Linked DNA regions of Homo sapiens: region 1 is linked to region 2. The links are contacts of gene promoters, found by promoter capture Hi-C in human tissues and cell types (Jung and others, 2019). All regions are on one chromosome and are shown on one strand. The core of a region is centred on a gene start or on the middle of the fragment in contact, and the rest is flanking DNA. Distances in the headings are between cores, read along the strand shown. Region 1 has its middle 8.5 kb from the start of TEX101. Region 2 holds the start of XRCC1 (X-ray repair cross complementing 1).

Evidence for each region. The method cuts DNA at HindIII sites, captures the fragments that hold promoters and counts their contacts. A contact is called where the count stands out against the background at its distance.
Region 1: a contact is called between a fragment that was not itself captured here and the fragment with the promoter of XRCC1 in region 2, in 1 of the 25 tissues and cell types used here (adrenal gland).

Annotation. Positions count from the first base shown.
Region 1 is chr19:43,422,086-43,424,785 of GRCh38, reverse strand. No RefSeq gene overlaps it. Among named protein-coding and RNA genes, the nearest start is that of TEX101, 8.5 kb to the right of the region's middle. The HindIII fragment of the contact is 7,747 bases long and covers 1-2,700 here.
Region 2 is chr19:43,574,180-43,576,879 of GRCh38, reverse strand. It overlaps XRCC1 (X-ray repair cross complementing 1), which reads left to right and starts at 1,353. Exons shown (of 17, transcript NM_006297.3): 1 at 1,353-1,472; 2 at 1,878-1,970. The coding sequence starts at 1,422. PINLYP (phospholipase A2 inhibitor and LY6/PLAUR domain containing) reads right to left here and starts at 1,079. Exons shown (of 6, transcript NM_001193621.3): 1 at 1-1,079. RefSeq lists enhancers at 1-452, 453-979, 980-1,139 and a silencer at 1,240-1,399. The HindIII fragment of the contact is 26,650 bases long and covers 1-2,700 here.

The DNA.
Region 1 (2,700 bases), core at 64-2,563, 150 kb after region 2:
TAGTTACACAGTAGGGTTGCCTCAGAAAGCAAGAGAAAGAATGCGCTGTCTTTTTAAAAATTATTATTATTATTTTTTGAGACAGAGTTTCACTCTTGTTGCCCAGGCTGGAGTGCAATGGCGCGATCTCGGCTTACCACAAACTCTGCCTCCCAGATTCAAGCGATTCTCCTGCCTCAGCCTCTCGAGTAGCTGGGATTATAGGCATGCGCCACCACGCCCGGCTGATTTTGTATTTTTAGTAGAGACCGGGTTTCTCCATGTTGGTCAGGCTGGTCTTGAACTTCTGACCTCACGTGGTCTGCCCGCCTCAGTCTCCTAAAGTGCTGGGATTACAGGCGTGAGCCACCGCACCCGGCCGCATTGTCCTTTTTTAAAAACTCTTCTTATACAGGGGTCTTATCTATATAAAAGCTAAGCTAAGTTATGTCTATGTGTGAGTGGGCTGACAGCATGACAAAATTTATTATTTTGCTGATTTAAGGAAAGTTATCTGCCAGGTGCAGTGGACCATGCTTGTAATCCCAGCACTTTGGGAGGCCAAGGTGGGAGGATCGCTTGAGCCCAGGAGTTTGAGACCAGCCTGGGCAACACGGTGCGGTCCTGTCTCTACAAAAAAAATACAAAAATTAGTGAGGTGTGGTGGCTCTCGCCTGTAGTCCCAGCTACTGGAGGGTGGGGGTGGGAGGTGGGAGGATTGCTTGAGCCGGGGAGGCAGAAGTTGCAGTGAACTGAGATCATGTCACTGCGCTCCAGCCTGGGTGACAGAGCGAGACCCCATCTCCAAAAATAATAAATAAATAAATAAATAAATAAATAAATAAAAGTTATTCTTGGCATTTTAGTGCATAAGTACACCAAAGCATGACTCTGTCTTGAAAGTATATATTGTTATGTGATATTGGGACATCTGGACATTCTTCTGTCACAGGAGTTTGTCCTTGCAGGCATTAATAAACTGCTTCTTTAGCTGTAAACATCTTATGACCGTGGGTTGTGATTGGCAAAGAGCGTACCTTGCTAGTTTTACGACAGGGTTGATTTTAAAATGGTGTCACCCTGGCTCTCCTATGCTCCTGTTTCCTTAACGTTAAGATGTCAATTCTCCTCAAACAATCCCAATCAAAATCCTTGCAGGATTTTTGTAGTAATTGACAAGATGATTCTAAAATTCATTTGGAAATGCAAACGACTTAGAATAGCAGTGACAACAACAACAACAAACAAACAAGCAATAACAAACTTGGCTAATGTATAATATATAATACTAAAAGCATATTTCATAAAGTTGATAAATTGGACTTCATTAAATTAAAAACCCATGCTCTGCTGGGTGCGGTGGCTCATGCCTATAATCCCAGCACTTTGGGAGGCCAAGGCAGGTGGATTGCCTGAGCTCAGGAGTTCGAGACCAGCCTGGACAACACAGTGAAACCCCATCTCTACTAAAATACAAAAAATTAGCCTGGTATGGCAGTGTAAGCCTGTAGTCCCAGCTACTCAGGAGGCAGAGGGAGGAGAACTGCTTGAACCCGGGAGGTGAGGGTTGCAGTGAGCCGAGATCGCGCCACTGCACTCCAGCCTGGGCGACAGAGCTAGACTCCGTCTCAAAAACAAACAAACAAACAAAAAAAACCGTGCTCTGTGAAAGACACTAAGAGAAGAAAAGGACAAGGCAGAGTAGAAGAAAATATTTTAAAATGATATACCTGTTAAGGAATTTGCATTTGTAATATGCAAATATGAAACATACTCAAAACTCAATAATAAAATAAACATCACGATAAAAAAGAGCCATCCATTTGAAGAGGCATTTTATGTTATTTAGATCTGTGCTGTACAATACAGTAGCCACTATATCATATAGTAGCCACATGTGGATACTGAATGCTTGAAATGTAACAAGTCCAAATTAAGATGTATCATGATTGTGAAATACACACCACATTTTGAAGACTTAGTATAAAAAAGAATGTAAGATAGCTCATTAAAATTTGTATTGATTACATGTTTAATGGTAATATTTTGGATATACCATTCAGTTAAATAAAATACATCTCTATTGCTATGATTTTGCCATTTCAAGAATATTATATACATGGATTCATATAGTACATATATGACCTTTGAGATGGACTTTTTTCCACTCAGCATAATGCCATTGAGATCCAGCCAAGTTTCTGTGTGTATAAATAGTTTGTTTCTTTCTATTGTGGAGTTTAACATTCACCTACTGTAAGACATTTTGGTTGTTTTCATTTTGGGCTATTACAAATAAAGCTGCTAAGAACAAGCACATACATGATTTTGTGTTGACTTAAGTTTCCATTTCTTGTGGATGAACGCTCAGCAGTATGACTGCTGGGTAGATGGTAAGTGTGTGTTTAGTTTTTAAATAAATGGCCAAACTATTTTCCAGAGTGGGTGCACCATTTCACATTCTTACAGCAATATATGAGAGATCTAGTTTCTCAATTCCTCTCCAGAATTTGGCATTGTCACTCCTTCCTTTTCTTTCTCTTTCTTTCCTCTCTTTTCTTTTCTTTCTTTCTTTCTCTTTCTTTCTTTCCTTCCTTCCTTCCTTCCTTCCTTTCTTTCTCTCTTTCTTTTTCTTCCTTTCTTCCTTTTTCTTTCTCTCTGTCTCTGAGACAGGGTCATGCTCTATCATCTAGGGAGGAGGAGTGCAGTGGCGTGACCTCA
Region 2 (2,700 bases), core at 104-2,603:
CCAAGACGGAGTTGGGCCTCTTGATTCCCAGTGGCTGCAAGAACTGGGATTCCCTCTCCTTCTCTCTCTTCCCCTCTCCTCCCAAGGAAGCACCCAGTGTGGGTAGGGCCCCACCTTGGAGCACCCAGCATGTCCAGGCTGGTCCTGCGGGTGCGGGGTGCCTTGTCTCCCTTCCCCTCTCTTCATGTGCTCGGCTCACACTCCTTGTGTGTTTGGGCTGTCTCCAGCTGCGACCCCACCCAGGGCTGCACCCTTGGGTCTCCAAGGCACCGAATGAACAGAGGGATGTCTGTCGGCAGTCATAGGCGGGCGTAGTAAAAGACAGATGCCCACAGTCCACATATTGGGAAACTGAGGCTTTTGTGGAAGAACTCCAGGATAGGGGTGTGTGTGTGTGTGTGTGGTGGGGGTTGGGCACATGCTTTGTGTTATATTTAGGACGCAGAACCCTTCTCTTTTGGCCTCAGGCATAAGGCTGAAAGAGATCTGCTAATTTTTTTCGCGCGTGCGCGCGCGCGTATGTATGTATATGTGCGTGTGTGTGTGTGTGGCAAGGGGACAGAGAGAAGAGTGCAGCCGCCTGAGCCATTTGAAGAGATCCTGTTGCGTAGAATCCAGGTTCCCTACGAAACTACGAAAATTCACTCAGATTTGCTGTCCTAGCCCAGCGCAGTCGCTCACGCCTGTAGTTCCAGCACTTTGAGAGGCCGAGGCAGGTGGATCGCTTGAGCTGAGGAGTTCGAGACCAGTCTGGGCAACATGGCAAGACCCGCCGCCCTCTCACCCCATGTCTCCACAAAAAATACAAAAATTAGCCGAATGTGGTGGCGCGTGCGTGTAATCCCAGCTACTTAGGAGGCTGAAGTGGGAGGATCCCTTGGCCCCAGGAGACAGGGGTTGCAGAAAGCCGAGATCGTGCCACTGCACTCCATCCTGGGTGAGAGAGCAAGACCCTGTCTCAACAAAAAATTTTTAAAAAATAAAATAAATAATAATACAGCAAAAAGATTTGCTTTCTCGGCTTCAGTGTGGGCGGTAACTCCATCGTGCAATGAGAAAGGCGAATTTCTTCCAGACACCAATCCCGGAGGTCGCTTCTGTTGCTAGGCTCCCAGAAAGCAGGGTTCGGACGTCATTGGGAGGCGAGGCTAGAGCGGGGTTGTGTGTGGCGGAGGGAGGCGGGGCTGGAGGAAACGCTCGTTGCTAAGGAACGCAGCGCTCTTCCCGCTCTGGAGAGGCGCGACTGGGCTTGCGCAGTGTCGACGCCGGCGCCGGCGCGCCGGGGTTTGAAAGGCCCGAGCCTCGCGCGCTTGCGCACTTTAGCCAGCGCAGGGCGCACCCCGCCCCCTCCCACTCTCCCTGCCCCTCGGACCCCATACTCTACCTCATCCTTCTGGCCAGGCGAAGCCCACGACGTTGACATGCCGGAGATCCGCCTCCGCCATGTCGTGTCCTGCAGCAGCCAGGACTCGGTGAGGGACCTGCATGGGGGAGGTTGGAAGACGTGAGGGAATTAATGAGGATAGCTCTTAAAAGAGCTTTTGGGGTTCTCTTGGAAGTCTAAGGAGAGTCATGGGGGGATTTCCAGGAGGCTAAAAGTGAATTGTGGAGAGATGTTGAATTAGGGACGTTCCGGCGTCTAGGGAACTTCCGGAGAGAAAAGGAGGAATAGGGAAGCTTTCTTGGAGAGCCCATAGGTGAACTTCCACGGGAAAGTGTTGTAGGGGAAACTCCAGGCAGAGTGTCGGGGGATTAACGGGAGAGCTTAAATCTGGGGGTCGTAGAGGCCTTGGGAGGACTCAAAGGAATCATCTGAGAGCTGGAGGCCTAGCTGTCATCTCTGTGCCCTAATTCTCCTCTCCCACTGTTGTTTCCAGACTCACTGTGCAGAAAATCTTCTCAAGGCAGACACTTACCGAAAATGGCGGGCAGCCAAGGCAGGCGAGAAGACCATCTCTGTGGTCCTACAGGTGATCCTGCCACCCCACCTCCTCCTCACTAGGAGTCTGGAGTCCGGGGTTCCAGATTCTGCTCCTGAGCCAACTGGCAGTGGGTTTAGTCACTTTCTTTGCTGGGCCTCAGCTTCCTTACTCGGAAAATGGGCAGCATAATCCCTGTGCCCCTCAGCAGAGAGGAAAGGAGACCCAAGGATTAAGTCCAGGATGACCACAGGAATCAGTGTGTGGTCCTGGGCAGGTGGCATCTACTTTCTGGGTTCCAGTTTCCTCAGCTGGAACAAAATGAATCATTGCCACGTACTCTGCCTCCTGCAGCCAGTGGGCTCAGGGCTGGAAGGTGTCCAGGAAGGTCGTCTAAGCCAATCAACTCCACTTTAAAGAAGGGGAAACTGGCCGGATGCCGTGGCTCATGCCTGTAAACCCAGCACTTTCAGAGCCTGAGATGGGAGGATTGCTTGAGCTCAGGAGTTCCAGACCAGCCTGGGCAACATATCAAGACCCTGTCTCTATTTTTATTAAAATAAATAATTTTTTTTAAAGAATAATAGCCAGGTATGGTGGTTCACACCTGTAATCCCATCACTTTGGGAGGCCGAAGCTGGAGTATTGCATGAGCCCAGGAGTTTGAGACCAGCCTGGGCAATACAGTAAGATGTCATCTCTACCAAAATTTTATAGATTAGCTGAGTATGGTGGTGTGCACCTGCAATCCCAGCTACTGGCGAGTCTGAGGTGAGAGAAT